Regions from separate parts of the Homo sapiens genome. Here all the other regions are linked to region 6. Evidence: promoter capture Hi-C in 16 types of primary human blood cells and fetal thymus (Javierre and others, 2016). All regions are on one chromosome and are shown on one strand. Each heading gives the region's core, a stretch centred on a gene start or on the middle of the fragment in contact. The rest is flanking DNA. Distances are from core to core; before and after follow the strand shown.

Region 1 (3,425 bases), core at 239-2,738, 510 kb before region 6:
TTAGTTTCAGTGTGGGTGGCACATTATTGTCAAAGCAGATTTCCATTCAATGTAACAATAAAAATACCCTGAGAGTTAAGCAAGATTGGATAATTGATAATATTAAGTAAATATTTTTAGGTGTGATGACAGTATTGTAGTTATGTTTTTAAAATATCTTGTCTCTTAATTATACATATTTAATTATTATAGGTGATATGACACTGGTGATATGGCTTGGTATTTACTTTCAAATAATCGAAGAAAAAATGGAAGTGGTGGAGTTAGTCCATTAATTAATCCATTCTCTCTACTTGCATATGTATTTAAATTTTTCCACTTTCAAAAAAGTAAAAACATCCAGAACAATATATTCAGATGCACCACTAGTGATCAGATTGTCAATTGGATCTATGTCTTAGCTTAGCTGCTGATTTCTATTATGAATCCTAATGATTCAGCAAGAATATGAGGTCATCATATTTAGCATCCTTACTTTATGGGGGTAAGAACTTGAGCTCAGAGACGTTAAGTATTTGTTCAAGGTTATGTTGGTTAGTCTCCCAGGTTTGTGACCATGAGTTGAGGTCTGGAGTTGAGTAGGAAGAGAATGTACTGAACCTAGCCTAGAAAACCTAGTTGAGTACCTGAGGCAAAGTAGAGCCAGCACATTTCTAGAGAGGAAAGGAGACAGTGAAAATGTTGCCATAGGAAGATGATCTAATATGCAGACCAGACATCAGCTGGGGAATCTGCCTCAGGCTTTATAGTTCTTCAGATCCAAGTCCCATTGACCTCTGATTCCAGAAGTAGCTGTGAATGTGGAAAGGAAGAACCTAGGAGACGGAGCAAGAACCCCCTCTTAGGAGCCTGTGCACCCCTCTCCCCCTGCCCCAAGCATAAAAATTAAGGAAATTCTTAAGTTCCTTCAAGGGTAATTTCAGAAACCTAGCTAGTCTTGAGAAGCAAATAAGTAACTTGTGGTGTTATGATATATGTTGGTTTTCGTCCACGGTTCCTGGCTCATAACTCCCATTGCTGTTGTTACAGTCTTTTATTATAATGGTGGGTGTTAGGCCTTAGGAAACAGAATCTCTCTGGCTTTCTCCTGCATTCCTTTCACCTGTACCAAGGCAGGACTCTAATCATCCTCTACCTTTCTAATTGTGGGTATTAAGACCCTCTGCAGAGAAGGTCCTGCCCTATATTCTGGAGGAAGGAATGCCGATGTGACAAAGCTTCCATAAAAACCCAAGAGCATTGGGTTCAGAGAGCTTCAGGACAGCTGAACACCTGGAAGTCCCTGGAGGGCAGCACCCGGGGAGGGCATGGAAGCTCCATACCCTGTTTCCTATACCTCGCCCTACGCATTTCTTCATCTGTCTCCTTTGTAATATGCTTTATAGTGTGTTGCCCTGAGTTCTGTGAGGCACTCTAGCAAATCAATTGAATCCAAAGAGGGGGTCCTGGGAACCTTAACTTGAAGCCAGTTGATCAGAAGCAAGTTCTGGAGGCCGGCACTTGCAACTGGTTTGTGTGTCAGGGGTTAGTCTTGGGGACTGAGAGCCCAACCTGTGGGATCTGACACTATCTCCAGGTAGAGTATGGGAACTGAATTGGAGGACACCCAGTTGGTGTCTGCAGCTTGGTGAGTGGGGAAAACTCCCACACATTTGGTCACAGAAGTCTTCTGTGTTGATGATGGTTGTTCTGGTGGTATGAGATGGAGGAAAAAGTTAGAGTTTTCCCTACAAATATCTTGATAAGCAAGAAGGTAATAGAAGCTTAAAACAATAAGCAAGGAAGTTATAGTCAGAGATATTTGATTCCCCTGTGGAAACTAAAGATAACCTCTAAATGTCACAGTAAGTAGCTGGTCGGACATGAGAGGTTGGGAGAGAGCTCCCCCGACTCCCACCAGGAACGTCCAGCAAACATTAGGTGATGGTCAGGAAGTTGTTAAGCTCTCCCTCTAAAATAATAATTGGTTGCAGCCAGCACCAAGGAAAGGCAGTCTCTCAACAGACAGAAAAACCTGAAGCTGGTGATCAGCTTTCTGATAAGATCTCAGGAGGTGGGTAAGTGGGCTTGAGCATGAGCACTAAGAGGCAAAATGGCAGCATTTAACTGATATATGACCTTCTAGGGACATTGTAAGGGAAGACCGCCTTCTAGGGACATTGGTAAGGGGAGAATGCCTCAAATGAGCATGTGTACAGCTCCAGTAAACACTGCACATGCGGCCCCTCCCAAGTGCTGGCAGGCCACTGTACATGCGGGCAGCCCGCTTCAAGGGAAGAATCAGGGGAGAAGGGACGCAAGTCCCCAGCAAGCCAACATATAAAACCCTATGCAAGTCAAAGGTCAAACCCTGCACTTGATCTCTCAAGTCACCCGCCTGGGCCTCTTCCAAGTACACTTTCCTTCTTTCTGTTCCAGCTCTAAGGCTTTTTAATAAACTTTCACTCCTGCTCTAAATCTTGCCTTAGTCTCCCTCTGCCTTATGTTCCTCGGTTAAATGCTTTCTTCTTAGGAGGCAAGAACTGAGGTTGCTGCAGACCCGTAGGATTCGCCGCCACTAACATTCTTTGGTGCCACGTGACTGGGATACGCTCCACTGCTAACATTAGCGAATGTCCCTGAGTTTTTTTTCAGAAACTGGGACCCACCCCGCCCCCCGGCAAACAAATCTGCTGCCTCATAGACCTCAGATAAGGGGGAACTGGAGACTGAACTCTAACATTCTTTGTTCTAAATTAACATCCTTAGGAACCTGGAGGAGGTCAGGCCCACAAGCCCAGCTAGCATTCTTTTCTACCGATTCCAAATTTTTTTTTTTTTTTTTTGAGATAGAGTCTCACTCAGCTGCTGAGGCTGGAGTGCAGTAGCACGATCTCGGCTCACCGCAACCACCATCTCCCGGGTTCAAGAGATTCTCTCATCTCAGCCTCCTGAGTAGCTGGGATTACAGGCACCCGCCAACATGCCTGGCTAATTTTTGTATTTTAGTAGAGACAGGGTTTCACCATGTTGGCCAGGCTGGTCTTGAACTCCTGATCTCAGGTGATCCGCCCTCCTCAGCCTCCCAAAGTGCTGGGATTACAGGTGTGAGCCACTGCGTCCAGCCGATTTCAAATCTTTGGACAAAATTTTACCTCCTTAGCCAACTGCAAGTCAGAAAATATTTGAATTTTCCTATTATCTGTGGGCCCGCACTTTAAGATGCCCCATCTTTTTAGGCCAAAACCAATGTGTAAACATCATATATTGATTCATAATTTTGCCAGTAATTTCTGCTTTCCTGAAATTTACCTCTGCTCTTAAACACCCTCACCTACAAGCCATCAAGGAGGTCAGGACTTAAGCATGAGCCACCTGGTCTTCCTTGCTTGGTGCCCTGCAAATAAACACCTGGCTGTTTCCCACTGCAAACCTCGGTGTGGATA
Region 2 (3,345 bases), core at 215-2,714, 480 kb before region 6:
AAGAAACTCACAGACTCCCCCTGAAACCTGCATATAGGTTGGCTTCATAAAAAGCCATTTGGCTGTGTAATGACAGCCCTTTTGTTCCAATGGAGCTTTCCTTCATCTGGCAGTAGATTCAGGATCTTATGTGGGGCACATCAGTCAGAAAGCATCTTCAAGGGTGTCAGAATATTTGTTCAGAAATGAAACTGTCTAGTCTTGTAACAAATGTGGAAAAAAAAAGTTCATTGATTGTGATCCCTGAATAATCCTACGCTCAAGTAATTTCCTGGAGCCTTTCAAAAATATTATCTGTTTGGCATAATAGAGATAAAAATGATGGGCATTGTAGCAATTCTCCTAGAAGCAACAAGAGAATGAGAAACTTGAAACTCTCCCCACTCCTGCTTACCCCACTTAGTAGACTAGTTATAAGTTTCAAAATACAAAGAGATATTTTTAGAATTAGATCTGTACACACATTGTACCCAAGATGGGTTTTGAGTGAACTCCAACACAGAAAAGTCATCTTACAATCTGGAACCATATCACGTGGGGAGATGTGTTAAATAATACTTTTCTTTCCAAAATGATTGTATCTTGTATAATGAGTTTCTTACCTCAAATTCATTTTTTTGTTGTTGTTTAAAAAATCATCTTCAGCTACCACTACCAAGTTTTAACTGTGGTTAGGCAAAGATCACATTTCCATTGTAGATTCCAAATTACTTTGCATTTTGCTCTAATGGACTCTTCAATTAGTACCCTTTTTATTCTGCCCCAGCATTCATACCACTACAATATTTATCGAAGTTTAATTATGTGCAAAGGCCTAACCTAGCACAGATGGCCCGATGAGGTCACTTTGTGCTTTGCTGTTCTTTATCCTCACAGTGACTCTGTAAATGGGCCCATGAAGCCTCTTAGGGTTATGTAATTTTTTTTTTTTTTTTTTTTTTTAAGATGGAGTCTCACTCTGTTGCCCAGGGTGGAGTGCAATGGTACGATCTCGGCTCACTGCAACTTCTGTGTCCTGGGTTCAAACAATTCTCCTGTCTCAGCCTCCCAAGTAGCTGGGACTACAGGCAGGAGCCACCATGACCGGCTAATTTTTGTATTGTTAGTAGAGATGGGATTTCACCAGGTTGTCCAGGCTGGTCTCAAACTCCTGACCTCAAACTCCTGATCTGCCCACCTCAGCCTCCCAAAATGCTGGGATTACAGGTGTGAGCCACCATGCCAGGCCCAGGTTATGTAAATATTTAATTGAGATAATCCACATAATGCATAAATCTTAGAACATAGCAACAAATCAATAAAGAGTAGCAATGGTGTCGTCACCTCTGCCACATTCATCAGCAATCAAGGTGTGTGCCCCATCAGTCAGTGGCCAAGACAGGGCTCCACATGTCCCGCATCTGCTCATACCCAAGAGCGAACTTTCCTCGACTTCCTGCTTCATCCTCCATGGTCTTTGTTGAAACAAAACTTGAACCAACAGTTCAACAATAAACCAGAGTATTTTACTTTGTTTTCTTCTTTCCCTAGATAACTTTTTATTATCTTCAGAGACTAGGGCTCTGTCGTCAATAAATATTTTTCAGACAAGGGGAAGAAGAACACTAGGTGAAACACAAAACCTTAGGAGAAAGGTTACCACATTTATTTTGATGCCAATCCCACTGAAAGTTAAAGTCAAAGCATCTGTTAACCAGATCTGATGACACCTTTGGCATCTGCAATCAAACACCGAGAAGAACTGTGGTGACGTGAGTTTTAAGTTCAGAAGGGGAATCTACATAGAAAGAAGAAACAACGGGAAGAAGTATTCCAACTCTAAGCCCCCACTAGGTACTGCTTTTAGAATTGTGCATTTTCAAAATATTTAGAGTTTAGTGTAGATATTTAATTATTCCTTTTCTTTTAATCCATAGAATTTCGAGGTAGAAATTTTAGTGTCTGGAAGGCAGCCTGTGGCCGGGTCCTAGTCCAACTTAAGCACTTATTTGTTTTATTTGTAGTATGTCACTTCTCACATCTGTGAATCTGTTTCTAAATCTGAGGATTGCAGATGATGAAATACACTGTTATTTCTGGAAGACTGATTAATGAATCTTTTGTGAAAGCAATTTAAAAATGCAATACAAATGTATGCCATTTTTCAGAGATTGTTTTCCTATAGCATACCATAAAATAATTCACTATTGTTGTTTGTAAGGTGAGATTTAAAGACAAGGGCACGTTCATTCCGTTTGTCACCTTTGCCTTTGGTACACAAGAGGATACCATTAGTGGAACGACCAGATTGGGTGATTATAACTTCAGATGTGAGTTATTCAACTTTTAAATGAGTGCTCTGCAGGCCAGCCTGACTCCTCAGTCCTCTCCACATTACAGAAGTCAGTGGCCCAGAAGACTTGGCTGATTCCACTGTCGCACAAGATGATGATATAAACTCCTTATTGTTCCTGTGAGTGAGATCCATTGATATCTTGGGTATCTTTGGAGATGATGCCTTTGAATTCTTGTGGAGCATCCCCAAGTTTATATTCATTCAGATGCTTTTTAAAATTAGAGGAAAAATTCTATATTTTAAAAAGGAACAAGAATATGTATAAGTTTTATGAAAAACTACAAAACATCAAACAACAAAGGGTAGGGACAATATCTGCCACACAGATGACGGAAAAAAATGTTGTTTTTCTGTTACACAGAGCTCCTGGAGATTGATGAAAAAGAGACAAATAGGAAGATGGACAAAGTACTTCACAATTTATAGGAGAGAAAATGAGAATGACCAGCATACATATAACATTTCATTCATTCTCCCTACTAGTCAGATAAATATAAATTAAAGAAAAAATGTGCTATTTTTAACCCTCAGACTGACAAAAATATAAAAAGGATGAATAGGGCTGGGCACTTTTATACTGGTGAGAATGGAAATTGCCGTATCTCCTTTAAAAAAAGACTATGTACTAAAATTAAAAATACAAAAATACTTTGACACAGAAATCTCCATTTTGGGAGTTTAATAGCAGCTAAAAAGGGGAGTGAGAATGAAAATGAATGGAGAGTGGATTATTATCTTGGAACATTTTTGCATTCTGTTGCTTGATAGAATAAACAAGTAATACCCATGTGATTTAAATCCATATGTATATGTGTGTGTGGAAGAGAGGTATGTGTATGTGTGTCTGTGTGTGTGTGTGTGTGTGTGTGTGTGTGTGTGTGTTTATGATCAGAACAAGTATGCCACAATGTGTACGTCCTCAAAACGTTAGGGCAAACCTAGTTTGCTTCATAGGTATTTATTCAGTAGGAGTTCAGAATAAGGTAAGTTATAGTTTTTCCCATTATCTG
Region 3 (3,041 bases), core at 365-2,864, 320 kb before region 6:
GGGATCGATGTCCTTATAAGTGGAACATTAGAGAAAGTGGCCATCTACAAGCCAGAAGATGGCTCACATTAGGAGCCAAATCTGCTGGCACCTTGATCTTGGACTTCCCAGTCTCCCAGAATTGTGAGAAATAAATATCTATTGTTTAAGCCACCGATTTTATGTTTTAAAAATAGTAACCTGAGCATTCTAAGACAACACTCACCAAGATGAGGTAAAAATGATCATAAGAAACAGGTTATACAATACAAAAGCATATTTATTTTATCAAGGTAGGAGAGAGAAGAAGAAGAACAGGAAGAGGAGAGGAAGTGGAGAAGGAGCAGAAGGGGGAAGAGGAAGAAAATGAGCAGGGAGAGAATATTCTATCTGACAAGAAAAGCATTCTCATATAGTATCTGTCGGGTGTATAACTTAGCACAAACTTAATGAAAGTCAATAAGGCAAAATGTACCAAATGTTTACAAATATATAGGCACTTATAATGCAGAACATTTAAATTAAAATTCTCAAGCAAAATCTGCATGTAAGATATGGTTATTGTCTTGGGGTCCATCTACCAACCCTGATCAAGATATACATTTTAGTTTAGTTTTGTCTTAGTCCAGGCTGCTGTAACAAAAACCATAAACTGGGTGGCTTATAAATAACAGGCATTTATTTTTCACAGTTTTAGAGGCCGAAAGTCTGAGATCAGGGTGCCAGCATGGGCAGCTTCTGGTGGGGGCTCTCTTCCTGGATTGCAGATGAACATTCACCAGGTCCTCACAAGGCTGAGAGAGACAACAGCGTCTCTCTCACTCTTCCTCTTCTTATAGGGCCACAATCCTATGGGATAAGGACCTTACCCTTGTGGCCTCGTTTAACTTTAATTAACTCCTTAAAAGCCCTATCTTCAAATACAGTCATATAGGGGGTTAGGGCTTCCATATATGAATTTTTGAGGAACACAAACATTCTGTTCATAGCAAGTTTAGTTCGATTACTTTTTAAAGTTCTTTCACTGTGTCCTGCATCTCGCTTGGCTCTGGAGATGCAAACGTGACTCAAACTGAACCGTCTTTCTCTTTCATGTGGCAGTTTGAGCATGTCCTCCTGAAATACACATGAACATATATACTTCTGCTGATGTGATCTAGCCCTCTCCCCTACTCTGACACTCATACACAAATTTAACTCCACTAACAAAGAGAACCCATATAATTATATTAGCAGAGTGTTGTAGGTAAACAGAAGGGATTATCCACATCACACAGCAAAACTGTCCAACCATCTCCCTTAAACTTTCGCTCTTACCAACCATTCTGGCCACCCTCCCTCATCCTAATATGCTTTCTCCTTCTCCTCCTGTCTCTCGCTTGCTCTTTCTTTTTTTGTAGTCCTATTCAATTTTTCCATGTACTTTCTCTTTGACTAGACTCTCATTGTCAGCTCTGCATACAACTTTTCAGCTAACATTCTGAGTTGATTTTCTACTTTTGTAGAACTCATTTGCATTTGATCTACCACCTTGATCAGCAAAACAAAGGCTTCTTGTGCATGTGTGTGCATGTACATGTGTGAGAGAGAGAGGATCAGAGAGAGAGAAAAAGAGAGAAAGAGAGACCATGTCAGGTTTCTTTTGACTAGTGTTTGTCTATCGTTTTGTTATCCTTTGACTTTTAATCTATCTGTATTTCTCTACTTAAAATGTTTCCTTTAGACAGCATATAATTAGGTCTTTGCTGTTGTTGTTTGTGTGTGTGTGTGTGTGCGCGTGCGTGAATTCAATGTAACAAGACCATTGTTATTTAATGTAATTTTTTATATCATTGTGTTAAAACCTAGCATCCTGCTAACCGTTTCTGTTTGCTTGTCTATTATCTGTTTCTTTTTTCTTCTTTTTCTGCCTACCTTTGAATTCAAATGTTTTATTATTCCATTTTATCTCCACTATTGGCTTATTAGTTATATCTCATTTTGAGTTTTTAAGTGATTGCCACATGGTTAACAATATCTACATCTCTAACTTGTCACAGCCTATGTTCAAATAATATGGTACTGTTTCATGAACAGTATAAGAATTTTACAACTGTATATTTCTGATTCATCCCTTGCATCTTTTGCACTATTGCTATTATAAGTTTTACATTTACTACTAGGTAAAAACTATAATTTTTGTTTCAGACAGTAAATTTTTTAATTATTAAAAATAAAGAAATTTTTTAATATTTACCTTATAGCACTTATTTCTCTCTATAGATCCATGTTTCTTTCTATCAACATAAACTTTTGCCAGAAGAACTTCCTTTTGTTTTTCTTGTAATACTACTGGGAATGTAAGGTTATGTGAGTCTGAAAAATACTATCTAGATTCTTATATTGTTTTCACTTTTGGAAACATTTATGCTGACTATAGAAGCCCTCCCCAGAAGCTGATGCTAGTGCCATGCTTCTTGTACAGCCTGCAGAACTGTGAGCCAAACCTCTTTTTTTATAAATCACCCAGCCTAAGATATTCCTTTATAGCAACACACAAATGGACTAAGGCAGGTGGGACTGGGGTGCCAGAGTTTTCCTCGAAGCCCCTGCTCTACCTTCAGCTCTCTGATATTCTTGCTTGCCTGTGCCATGGAGGAGGTCACCCTATGCTCCTGCTCCTGCCCCAAACATACTGGCTGCTCCTTCTTAACCAATCTAGGTTCACGGTGGGTTTGTGGGGACAACTCTGTTATTTTGTGCCCTGTCAGTTTTACACTGATCCTTATTTCTTGGATTTTGAGGCTTTCTTAACATTCCTGTCTCTCCTCTCTATGGCATTAACACTTTGTCTAGTATCTGTTGTTGCTTTTGAGCTGGAGCTTCCTCCTGTCCCTTAAAATGATTTGCCTCTTTTCCCCTAGAAAAAAGTCCTCTAGGGTTTTTTTTTTTTCTTTTATCCTTCCTACATTGAAACTGGTTTTCGCTTGTACCTTGGGAATGATGTACTTTACTGCTCCTCCCCTAAGAGCACTGGGGTCCAGGAAATGGGTAGTGTTTTGTGAGTGGTCTCTCGTAGCAGT
Region 4 (3,168 bases), core at 303-2,802, 380 kb before region 6:
TATTAACTCTATTTTAAAATGACAAGTAGGAAAGCAGGGCTTTGAGAAGTAAAGTAACTTGCTCATGATCTCACAGCTATAGATGCGGTGGAAGCAGGATCTGAACCCAGAACTACTAACTCTATATGCCACATTCCATCTGTTAAACTGTATTGCCTTTGCTGTCCAACTGTTTCACTTTTAGATGAGAGTAAAAGGAGCAGAGGGAGAAATTGATTTGCTGAGATACACAGCAGATCTTTCAACCAAGGCTCTGGCCTCCCATTTCCCTTTCTTTCGGGGTACCCCCATATTCTCTTGGGTACATTTCCTGAGCTGCTCTTCCAGATCCTCCTCATTTGGCCTGGGATGCAGGAAGCTTGCTGGAGATCCTGGACAGCTGTAGACAGCCAGCTTTGCCTTCTCTGAGCAATGACAGCCCTGGGCTCCACTGCCACATATTGGCTTGGACAGAGACAGGTGTGAGAGATGGGGTGCCTCCTGGAAGTATCAGACTCCACATCAGACATTCACCCTGGAAGAACTCTGGTGGGATTTAGAATCCCAGGGTTTATTGTAATCATTTGAATGAAGTCTTTGTCTTCCTTTCCCATCCACTACTCAAATCTTGTGGTGATCACTAACCAGAGGATTCAGAGAAATCAAAGCTTTGAAGGAAGTTCGCCTTTCAATGTGTTCACTCCACATTGAACACGTCCACAGCTCCTGACTTCTCGAATTAATAACAAAGAGATTTTTTTTTTTTAACAGCACGTCAGAACAAATGAAGGCAAGGAGCCAGTTCTCAGTTCTCTGTAGATCATGAGAGTTTTTGTCCGTGACTATTGACCCTGTGTCCTTCCCTGGAAGTACTCAACTCACTTTAATTAGCTCACATTCTGTCCCCTTCATCTAACCCACATCACGGTGGTTCCAAGGGATGAGAACTGTGCACTGTGGCAGACACCTCTGTCTGTTCCTTTGAGCACCTACTACTGTGAGGCTCAATTGCCAGGGATCATAGAATCAAGGCAGGATCAGCGACATCATGTGTGGGGCCCAGAGCAAAATGAAAAAGTGAGACCCTTCTTCTAAAACTGCTAAGAATTTCAAAACCTGGGAGTAGGGCATTCAACCAAACATGGGGCCCATCTAAAGTTGGACACTCATGGAGCTGGTCCAGTGTGGGGCAGTGGAAAAATGTAGCACAGATGAAGAAGAGAGAGAAGTTAGAGCTGAGTGTTAGCATCTCAGTCTATAAAATAGGGTGCTAACCCTTACCTTGCTAATTGTATATTAAATTTTGGTAATGTATGTAGACCACTAGGAAATGTTAGATGATCATTAAGGAGGAGCTCCTTTCCCTAAGGGAGAACCTAACTTAAAGACCTCATTTTGCAGAGGAGAAACCTGAAGCCTAGAAAAGAAAAATGCCTTGTCCATGTTTAGTCAGGGAATCCATCTGTGGTGGGCCTGGGATAGGGGACCACGGTCTTCATTCCCAGCTTGGTGAACTTTTCACTGAACCAGGCTGCTTCTCATCTCTCCAGATGCCTTTGGATAATTTCTGCTTGCTAAAGAGGCGGGGCCTTAGTCCTCATCGGCCGATGGTTTGGAGACTGAATCAACTATCTGTAAGTTTGGGCTCCACTTCCTGCCCAGTTGCTGTCCCATGAGTGAATAATAATGAAATAAATGTTATCCTTCATCACAGGATGCTTGGGGTGAGGGGATAGCTTTCTCAGATGACTTCTCACATGGTTTGTGATGAAATAGTTTTTCTGCACATAGCCACTTTCCAGTCACTAGACGGCTGCTTTGGGCACTAACAAATAGTGAACCTGGTGGTAGTTTGATTTAAAGGTGATGACACAGACAAAGACAGGGTCCACTGGGTCTACTGGCTGTGGATAATGTCAGTGCTTAACAAGAATAATAATACTACAAAAATATTCTATAGATAGACACTTCGGGGAATTAGAAACTACTGTTATAATAAATATCATCGCTCTGATAACAGAGGAAGGGCAAGGCTAGTGTGATTTTATTATAACTTTTCAGAAGAGAACACTGGCTCACAATGACCTGACTATCTGCCCAAATTAACAGTTATATATATGGTGGTGATGGGGGCTTCTGAGAAGGACATTACATTTGATTACGCCTTTATTTCCTGTGCCTAAGAGACAATTGTGAACTAAATCAATGATACTTTCGATCTCTAAATTTCACTCGGTGAGAACACAACAGAATGTATTGAAAAGGAGATGCAATTTCAGAGTCCTGTATTCCTTCCTGTCTTTTCCAACACTCATTCCTGGAAACTGAAGGCTGGTGAATCACTCTGCATCAAGACCTGGCCTTGTTCTTAAGTGGGGGCCCTGATCAATTGAACAGCCTTTTACAGGGATATGAGGGCTGGTCTTATATTCTGTGGTGACTGTGTTCCTAATTGTGGTTCCAGTCTCAAAGTCATATAGAAGCTTGGTTTTCTGTGGACAATTTCATTCATAGCTTATGAGTACAGCTGCCATTTTTTTACTTGGTGATGACCCTCAACTCTATTCTGCCCAAATTCTGTCCAAGCTTCAGGCCTATCTGCTAGACTCAATTTTTGGGTGAATCCCAAGCATTTTAAACTTAGAATGTCTTTAACTGAACTAATCCCCCTGCCCCCCTTACTTTCTCTGTGGTTTCCTTTATCCCAGTTGGCAGCAATGTCTTCACCTGTATCAGCCTCCTTCCTCTCCTTTCTCAAATATAATAAACTAGGTTATAAAAGTCTGTCTGTTCTATTTGTCTCTAAGCCTCCAGCCTTTCTACTTCCAACTTATTCCTACCATGCTCCCGGAGGGACCCTTGATTATGTCCCTCCCCACTGAATATTTTGCTGTTATTTATTGTTACATCAAACAGTCTTTTCATTGATAACAACCTAAGAGGTAGTTACTAATACCGTTTTGTAAATGAGGAAACTGAGGAATAGAGAGTCATACAAAGTCATACAGCTTCTAGGTAAGAAAGCAAATGTCTGAACCCAAGAAGTCTATTTCCAGAGACTCTGCTTCTGGCTACTAGGCCATCGTTATAGGCGGAATTATGTCCTCCTCTCCCTACCCAAATTTATACATTGAATTCCTGATCCTTAGAACCTCAGAATGTGATCATATTTGGAGATAACATCTATAA
Region 5 (2,960 bases), core at 95-2,594, 340 kb before region 6:
CAGAATTGGAAATGATACTACAAAGATAATGTTATATAATTTTATTTTAACATCAGAGGCAGATATTGTCAATTCGTCCCATTATTGGTAATATTTATTGGTAATACTAGGTTTGATCACTTAAGTGGTGATAGCCTGGCACCTTCATTTTAGAAATACATTTTCCCTTTTATAATTACTAATTAATACATGAGATGAAACTTCAAGATCATGTGATTATTGTATTTCCGAGCAACTTTTTATGAGTGACTTTAGTATCTCTCAATGATACTTGCCTGAATTAATTATTATCTTAGGGGTTGCAAAATAGTGATTTTTTCCTAAGCATTATTCTACATTTATGTGATGGCTAATTTTATGTGTCAACTTTGACTTGGCCGTGGAATGCCCAGATAGCTGATTGAACATTGTATCTGGGTGCATCTGTGAAGGTGTTTCAGGAGATGAGCATTGGGACCAGTGGACCAAATGAAGCAGACCTCCTCCCAATGTGAGTGGGCATCACCCAACCCACTGAGGGCCTGAATAGAGCAAAAAGGAAAGGAAGAGGCAGGTTAAATCCACTCCATCTGACTACATGAGTTGGGACATTAACCCTCTCCTGCCCCCAGTGCTCTTGGTTCTCAGGTTTCTAGACCCAAACTGGAACTGGAATCTATAATATCAGCTTTCTGAATCTTGGGCATGTGAACTACACCATTGGCTTTCTTGGGTCTCCAGCTTCCAGAGGGCAAATCAGCCTCCATAATATCATGAGCAAATAACTTATAAAAACCTCTTCATATATCACATATATTGTGTGTCTATATATATGAAGTAGAAAATATATATTTATAAATATATATTATATATGTATGATATATAATATATGTATGATATATAATATATGTATGATTCATAATATATTATATACATATATTATATAGTATATAATATATAATATACGTACTATATAATATACATATATAAAATATAAATATTTATAAATATATAATATATATTTATAAACCTGAATATATGATATATAAATATATTATATATGATATAATACATTTATAAACATGTAATATGTAATATATTTATAAATATATAATATAGCATATGTATAATATATATTTTTATAAATATTATATATGTATATATTTCCTGCTGGTTCTGTTTCTCTAGTGAACTCTAATAGAACTTATGAGCTGACTTTCTTTCCATTTTTCTCCTCTTTATCCCTGTTTTCTACATAACAATAAGGACACATAGTTTTTTTTAATTCAACATGTTATAATCCATTTCCAAAATTAGTCTATTTGTGTCAAATTATGACAGATTTAGACAATAAGAGCTTTGTAAAGATGGCTCCTGTGTTTCACTCAAACTTCTGATTTTAGTTTCAATTTCAAGTCACTCAACTCACAGTGAAAATGTAGTTCTTTGAGCTACAGAGTGCAAAAGCAGAAGAAAGAAATCATACAAATAACACTTTTTCAGCATTTACAAATCCAAGCATTATCTCCTTAAAAAGCTAAGGGGCTAAGCAAAATTAAAAGGTGGGAAAGGGAACTATGACCCGAATCCCTAATTGTTCAGTACTGTTCTGTCTGCCTTGCCCATCATGAGTTGTCCTCTGCCTGTGAATATTCTAATGTTTCCAGGAATGTCACAAGAAAGAGAGTACAAGGTTGTTCAATGACACTGGCTGGGGGGATGTAGCAGGCTGGCAGGGAGTATAGCAGTTCTGAGCAGTCTTATGTTAGTGCAGGACCCAGGAGTTCCGGTACATCTCATTTTCTATTAGTTCAAAGTTACATCACTGAGTGACATCATTTGAGTTAAATTATTGAGAGTTACACTATTATTCTCTAATGTTCTCATGCTCACCATGTTTATATCTTCCTAGGTGAGGTGGCCATGCTTATTGGAATAGCTATTTCATTTGGGGTGATATATCCATGATTACAACCAAACAAGAGGAGGCATTCTTCATAATATTTTGAAATACACATAACACCCTGCTGTATCCCTTATTCATGGTCACCTAGGCTTTCAACACTTTTTTGCTTTTTGCCACATGATGTTGCAGATTTATTGAGCATTTCCACGTCTCAGATCTGGAATCGGCCATTTCTTAGAGAGGCCCGACTCCCTAGCATTTGGGAATTAAGATCTGAGAGCCATGTGTGTTCACTGCTTCTGTGTCATCATTGACTCTAGGCCCTTTCAGTAGAAAAGCAAGAAAATATTTGCATATTTAAACCATGAGATCATCCTGACATTTCTAATTCAAATTTTACCTGGCAGGATTTCCTTAGTTTAGTTTATTTGATATTTTTATTTTATTTTTCTTACAAGGAAAATATTGGGTTCTAATGATATCAAGGCACTTACTTATTTGCTTGTCTGTAGTAGAAGTAAACACTTTCACATTTTTAATATCAATATTAATACTAACAAGAAACTTACTAAATAAAGGTTCTGGTGGTTCTTTTTGTCCTTAAGCAATATCATACTAAAAGTGTATATTTGGAGTACTGCATTCAAAATTGTCTTGGATTATTTAGTTTCTCTGACTGGTTATGTCAAAAATTAAAATAGAGTTAGACTTTTACTAAAATAGAGTTAGGTTTTTATTTCTGTTTTTACTGAGTTTTCTATAACTCCATAACTATTTTTAGTCTAAAGATGTTTGCTTCTTTAAAAGTAGGGTATTGACTGGGCACAGTGGCTCATGCCTCTAATCCCAGCAGTTTGGGAGGCTTAAGCAGGAGCATGACTTGAGCCCAGGAGTTTGAGATCTGCCTGCGCAACATAGCGAGACTGTGTCTTTACAAATAATAATAATAAAAATATTGGCCAGGCATGGTGGCATACACTGAGGTGGGAGGATCACCTGCGTCCTGGCGGTTGAGGCTTCAGTAAGCCGTGATTGTGCCACTGCACTCCAGCCTGGGTGACAGAGCAAGACCTCA
Region 6 (2,920 bases), core at 234-2,733:
GGTCAGTGGTCCTGGTGATCGCCTAGGGAAATAGATCTATTCTGCTGGGATCTGGGACTGAATCCTAGGCAGGTTTGTGGGGAGTAGGATGGTGAGAGGTGCTGGAAGGCACGGGTCCACTTCTTAACCTTCCTTTTAACTCTGTGCTGCTGGGTGGAAGCTTTATAGTCAATGTCCTCTCCATCTCTGGCCACATTCCCAGGACTCCTGATCATTAGAGTGACTGTTGTCCCAAGTGGACATAATTATAAATAGCTCCCTTCTTTTACTGAAAGTGTCCTACAGTGGACAATAATTTAGTCCCCTCCTCCAGTGGAAAATATACTACACGCATGCAAAAGCTCAGAGGGCTCCAGGAGTCGTCCCAACTCCCCTTTCTCAGTTCCTTGGGATTTTTTTTTTTAAGTTTGTCCTCTACTAGATCGCTTCTCATTCACCAGGATATCTTAGATCAAGGCTGGCGTTTGAAGCCTCTGCCTGAGTTCAAGCCCCTTGCTTCCGGTGTTCCTGTCCAAGCCCGCGGACTGGAATCTCCCAAGGAAGTTACGAATAATTCGGGGGGGGTGGCGAAATGGGGGGTGGAGTGGGGCGTGAAACTGCAGCCTTCACCTGGCTAACAGAAGAGGACTCAGGACGCCCAGCACCCTGGATAGGACCCAACAGCGCTCCCTGGAGGTGTGGGTGCAAAGTTTTGTCTAGCTTGGCCTCCAAGGCCCTCCAGGCAATGCACTGGGAAGGGAAGAATTAGTGATTAAATTTGACCTGAATCAAAAGATGCCTTCAGTTCCTCTTCTGCTGAAAACACTAGAAATACAAGCCCAGGATGTGGGGATCGGGGGCAAGCGGTGACACCAACTAAAAGGAAGCAATGGATTTCCTTTTAAATGGAGAGGAGGATGTCGGAGAGATACCATGAAACGAATTCTCGAAACTCCAGGCAGCAATACCGATGAAAGCGCATTCTTCCAAAACAGAGCTCCTCATTCAGGGCCACATCTGAGCCTGGGGGCCCAATGCTCAGAGCGTGCCTGGCTTTCTGGGGAAAAGCGCCAGGAACATGAACGAGCTACGAAGAGCTGGAGCGGGCGCTGCGGGAGCAGCGTGTGGGGAACGGCTCGGGAGTCGCTGCTGGTAACCCCGGCCCAGCCGCCCGCAGCTGGGCTCGCAGCCGGCTCGCAGCCGACACCCAGGGTGCTGCGCCCGGGGCCCCGGGCCGCGGAAGGATATTTCACTTTGTTTACCTCCCCGGCCGGGCGAGGGAGCTGCGAGGCCGGTGCTGGCGCCCCCGGCACGGAGCTGCAATGGCAGCGGCGCGGGGAGCCGCCCGAGGACTGGCAGCGGCGGGGCTGATTGATGGGCGCCCGGCGCAATGAGGGGGGCCCGGGCGGGGGCGGGGCGGGGCCGGCTCTGGGCTGAGCCAGTCGCGGGGGCGGCGGGGGGGGGGCGGAGGCTCCGTGGAAATGTGTCGGTGACATTGAATGGGGAGACCGAGCGCGAGCGAGGCGCGCGCGCGCACACGCGCACTCACGGCCCCGCTCGCTCCGAGATCCCCGGCCACGTAAGTAACTATTAATACCGCCTCGCCGGGGGATGCGGGCGTGCTGAGCGCGGGGATTGGCCTCGGGCACCGTCGGCCGTCCCCTTTAATTTTTAAATACACGGTCCCCTCTTTTCTCTGGGGGGGGCAAGCAAGAAATCAAAGAAGGAGGAGACAAGCCGTCAATTTTCTCCAAAACAAACCCCACCGGGCAATTTGGTCTCGGGGTAGGGGGAGACGGGGTGATTGCAAATTATTCCAGGACGAGATCCAGTTCTCCAGCGGGAAAGGGGCAAAGGAACGCCGCGCGTTGGAAGGGCCAGGGACGCAGCTCCCCTTGCAGCGCCCGCAGGACCCCCGCAAGCTCGTGCCGGCGAAATCGGAGACCGCCGATCTGTCCTCGTTCTCTCCTGCACGTCTGGCTGCATTCGGAGGAAGACCTGGGGCGCGAGCGAGCGGCGACAGCATGAGCCTGTGCTGACCTCCGCGCGGCGGGCCGAGCCCAGGGCTTTGTCGCGGTACCTGCGCCCAGCCCGCGCCGCAACTCTGTGCCCAGCTTTTGCAATCTTTTGTTGGCAGCGCTGACCGCACCAAGTTAAATGCTCCCTTGCAATTTTTCTTTTTTTTGTTTGTTTGTTTAATTTTTGGAGAGCTCGCGATCTTGGAAAAGCCTCAGACGCCATCTACAGTTAAAACGTAGGTAACTGCCCTCTCCCGCACCCCCCCCTTACACGCCCCCCACCCTTTCCACCAAAAAAAGGGGGTGCAGCGCGGATTCTGGCTGCCGTGCGTCGCCAGCCGGTAGACCCGTGCTTGTTTCCTTTCTCTTTTTGTTTGGCTTCTAACGCGTTGGGACTGAGTCGCCGCCGTGAGCTCCCCGAAGACTGCACAAACTACCGCGGGCTCCTCCGCCCCGTCTGCGATTCGGAAGCCGGCCTGGGGGTCGCGTCGGGAGCCCTGGCGCTGCAGCTCCGCACCTTAGCAGCCCGGGTACTCATCCAGATCCACGCCGGGGACACACACACAGAGTAACTAAAAGTGCGGCGATTCTGCACATCGCCGACTGCTTTGGGGTAACAAAAAGACCCGAGTTGCCTGCCGACCGAGGACCCCCGGGAGCCGGGCTCGGAGCAGACGAGGTATCCGGCGGCGCCCATTTGGGGGCTTCTAACTCTTTCTCCACGCAGCCCCTCTTCTGTCCCCTCCCCTCTCGCTCCCTTTTAAAATCAGTGGCACCGAGGCGCCTGCAGCCGCACTCGCCAGCGACTCATCTCTCCAGCGGGTTTTTTTTTGTTTGTCGTGTGCGATCCTCACACTCATGAACATACACAGGTCTACCCCCATCACAATAGCGAGATATGGGAGATCGCGGAACAAAACCCA
Region 7 (2,967 bases), core at 442-2,941, 460 kb before region 6:
TTGTTTATCTAAACTTCAAATTCAATTTAGTGCTTTTATTTTTATTTTCTAAATTTGGTAAATTTGTAGCTTTTAGAATATTAATCATTCTGCTAGTCTCTTGTTTGTTTTTTTTCTCATATAAAACTCAGACATACATGGTCAAGTCCAATTTTATTATTTATAAGCTATGTGATCTTTGACAAGTTACATTATTTCTCTGAACCTTAATTTTCTCATCTATAAGACTGGCAAAATGTCTCTAATGACAAAGACATCATCTGCTCACTAAAGTGTATGCATACCCTTCTTCCTGGGTACGCCACTTGATACGGTTTGGCTCTGTGTCTCCACCCTAATCTCATCTCATAACTCCCATAATTCCCACACATTGTGAGAAGGACGCAGTGGGAGATGATTGAATTATGGGGGTGGGTCTTTCCTGTGCTGTTCTCGTGACAGTGAATGGGCTCACGAGATCTGACAGTTCTAAAAACAGGAGTTGCCCTGCTCATGCTCTCTCTTTGCCTGCTGCCATCCACAAAAGATGGGACTTGCTCTTCCTTGCCTTCCGCCATGATTGTGAGGCCTCCCCAGCCATGTGGAACTGTAAGTCCAATTAAACCTCTTTCTTTTGTAAATTGCCCAGACTCAGTTATGTCTTTATCAGTAGCATGAAAATGAACTGATACACCACTAGACTCAATATACCAGCCCCTTTTGCAATTAGGAGCAGGCTTGTGGTTGACTTTTACAGTAGAGTGGGAGCAGTAGTGATTTACGCCATTCAGGGCAAGGCTTTCAAGAAGAGATTGTTTCTTCTCCATACTCCATGTTCTTCTTTTGACCAGCTGATTGCCGGGAGTGCTGAGTCCTCAGGGATTAGTGGGGTCTTAGTATGAAAGAAACCCAGGTCTCTGAGTCACCATATAAAAAAACAAAACAAAACAAAACAAACCACTTAAATATCTTTCATGTGAAAAAGAAATAAATTTTTGTTATATTATGGCACCTAACTTTGGGAGTTCATTTGTCACAGCTGCTACTAATACCATAACTAATACAAAAATTGCTACTAGAAATAAAAATGCTGACTTAATAAATACCTAAAATAGGTGGTATTGACTTAGCAGTTAGGCAGAACCAATAATAAAAGATATTGTAGCCTAGAACAGTAATCTATTGATGTGATCAAACTATTGCCTAGAAACAGATGACATTCCTACTGAGCCCAAATCTCCAGGGAAAACGGTAAGAACTATTGTGTTAGTGAGTTTTGGCCTTTACTTTGCAGTAAAGTATTACAAGAAAGAGATAAGCTCAAGAAAGGACTGACTGGTTTGAAAGAAAAAGCATAAGAAAATAGGAAGAGTTCAGAAATTTGAGATTTTGCCAAGTTAGAAAGCAGATGGCATCTAGATCCTAAATGGGAAGAGATAATTCTAGAAAAGGATGTCAACAATAAAAGGACCTATTATGTCTATTTGGCTAAACAAAGAGAATCAGCCCTATGACAAAGATCTGATTAAGGGTAAAACCTTTCCACTCAAGCCTAATGTTTCAGATGGCTGCATGATATCAAACATTATGTCAACAGATACAGGCATGGGGCTTAGAAAGCAGAGAGATAAAGCAAACTTTGTTATTATGTATGGAAATGAACTTTAAGTCTTGTACATAGGACTGACCAGTAGAAAATAGATCAGAAACTTTTAAAGGAACTGTATTAATTTGATAGAGCTGCTGTAACAAACTACTACAAACTGGGATGCTTAAGCAACAGAAATTTATTGTCTCATATTCCTGGAGACTAATAGTGCAAAGTCAAGGTGTCAGCAGAGTTGGCTCCTTCTGAGGGCTGTGAAGACGCATCTGAGGCAGGCCTCCCCTCTTTGTCTGCAGATGGCCATCTTGATCTTCACAAGGTATTTTCCCTGGATACAAGTTTGTCTCCAATTTACCCCTTTGTAAATTTAATTAATTAATTAATTTATTTTAGAGTCAAGGTTCTCTGTTGCCTGGGCTGGAGTAGTACAGTTACCACTTGTACTACCACTGATCATGGCTTACTGCAGCCTCAAACTTCTGGGCTGAAGTGACTTTCCCACCTCAGCCTTCAGAGTAGCTGGGACTACAGGCATGCACCACCATGCATAGCTCCCAAATTTCCTGTTTTTATAAGGACACCAGTCATATTGGATTGCAGCTCACCCTAATGACCTCAGTTTAGCTTTTTAAAGACCCTGTCTCCAAATAAGGTCGTATTCCAAGGTACCGGTGGTTAGAACTTCTACATAATCAATTTTGAGTGACACAATTCAACCCATAACAAGAACTTTTTGAGGAAATTATATTGCTAAAGAAACAATTTTCCTGGATTTTTAAAAAAATGCCAGTTATTATAAAACAACTCTTAAATCCTAACGTTCACAAAATCAGAATTGTACTGCAAAAGCTCCTCCGCCTCCAACACCCATGTGACCATGGAAGATAATGAACGAGGATCCACATCCCACAAGCCAGAACCAGGTCATGGATGAAACAGACAAAGCAGTTCCTCCCAGAAGGCATATCCAGGGTCTAATCCCAAATAACTTCCTCCATGTCCAGATCAAGAATCACTTCTCCAGCAGGAGTGCATCATGAAGAAGGACAAGTGAATGCCTTGTGTTTCCTGTTCTTCCCGTTCTCGGTGGGAATTTCATCGTTCTTCTACTGGATCTGCTACACTCTTTTCTATTATATGTATGTTTGGGGAAGAGATGCCCAAACTCATGATCTGGAGTTCATAGATCTCCAGATCGTGAGCTACTTCTCTCTCTCTCTATGTGTGTATATATATACATATATATGTATGTATATATACACACATACATATATGTACATATAAATATATATTAATATAAATATATATTAATTATAATACTATTTAATAATATAATAATATTAATTAATTATAATTATATATATATACTTTTGGGAGTCAGG

The links. Contacts are between HindIII fragments. The CHiCAGO score rates a contact against its expected background, and 5 or more counts as called.
Region 1: a fragment that was not itself captured here is called in contact with the fragment with the promoter of TRIB2 in region 6 in 2 of 17 cell types (M0 macrophages and M1 macrophages); the score reaches 5.6 in M0 macrophages.
Region 2: a fragment that was not itself captured here is called in contact with the fragment with the promoter of TRIB2 in region 6 in 1 of 17 cell types (neutrophils); the score reaches 5.1 in neutrophils.
Region 3: a contact is called between a fragment that was not itself captured here and the fragment with the promoter of TRIB2 in region 6, in 1 of 17 cell types (neutrophils). The highest score is 5.8, in neutrophils.
Region 4: a contact is called between a fragment that was not itself captured here and the fragment with the promoter of TRIB2 in region 6, in 1 of 17 cell types (neutrophils). The highest score is 5.2, in neutrophils.
Region 5: a contact is called between a fragment that was not itself captured here and the fragment with the promoter of TRIB2 in region 6, in 1 of 17 cell types (neutrophils). The highest score is 5.1, in neutrophils.
Region 7: a contact is called between a fragment that was not itself captured here and the fragment with the promoter of TRIB2 in region 6, in 1 of 17 cell types (neutrophils). The highest score is 5.9, in neutrophils.

Annotation. Positions count from the first base shown.
Region 1 is chr2:12,208,120-12,211,544 of GRCh38, forward strand. All of the region lies in intron 3 of MIR3681HG (MIR3681 host gene), which reads left to right. Among named protein-coding and RNA genes, the nearest start is that of MIR3681, 11 kb to the left of the region's middle. The HindIII fragment of the contact is 546 bases long and covers 1,216-1,761 here.
Region 2 is chr2:12,231,048-12,234,392 of GRCh38, forward strand. All of the region lies in intron 3 of MIR3681HG (MIR3681 host gene), which reads left to right. Among named protein-coding and RNA genes, the nearest start is that of MIR3681, 34 kb to the left of the region's middle. The HindIII fragment of the contact is 6,789 bases long and covers 1-3,345 here.
Region 3 is chr2:12,393,536-12,396,576 of GRCh38, forward strand. All of the region lies in intron 4 of MIR3681HG (MIR3681 host gene), which reads left to right. Among named protein-coding and RNA genes, the nearest start is that of MIR3681, 200 kb to the left of the region's middle. The HindIII fragment of the contact is 4,254 bases long and covers 1-3,041 here.
Region 4 is chr2:12,338,689-12,341,856 of GRCh38, forward strand. All of the region lies in intron 4 of MIR3681HG (MIR3681 host gene), which reads left to right. Among named protein-coding and RNA genes, the nearest start is that of MIR3681, 140 kb to the left of the region's middle. The HindIII fragment of the contact is 1,815 bases long and covers 646-2,460 here.
Region 5 is chr2:12,374,837-12,377,796 of GRCh38, forward strand. All of the region lies in intron 4 of MIR3681HG (MIR3681 host gene), which reads left to right. Among named protein-coding and RNA genes, the nearest start is that of MIR3681, 180 kb to the left of the region's middle. The HindIII fragment of the contact is 7,160 bases long and covers 1-2,960 here.
Region 6 is chr2:12,715,453-12,718,372 of GRCh38, forward strand. It overlaps TRIB2 (tribbles pseudokinase 2), which reads left to right and starts at 1,484. Exons shown (of 3, transcript NM_021643.4): 1 at 1,484-2,920. The coding sequence starts at 2,856. LOC124905974 (a long non-coding RNA gene) reads right to left here and starts at 1,306. Exons shown (of 2, transcript XR_007086222.1): 1 at 1-1,306. RefSeq lists silencers at 1,072-1,291, 1,382-1,441 and enhancers at 1,394-2,033, 1,882-1,951. The HindIII fragment of the contact is 5,863 bases long and covers 159-2,920 here.
Region 7 is chr2:12,250,467-12,253,433 of GRCh38, forward strand. All of the region lies in intron 3 of MIR3681HG (MIR3681 host gene), which reads left to right. Among named protein-coding and RNA genes, the nearest start is that of MIR3681, 53 kb to the left of the region's middle. The HindIII fragment of the contact is 3,488 bases long and covers 1-2,967 here.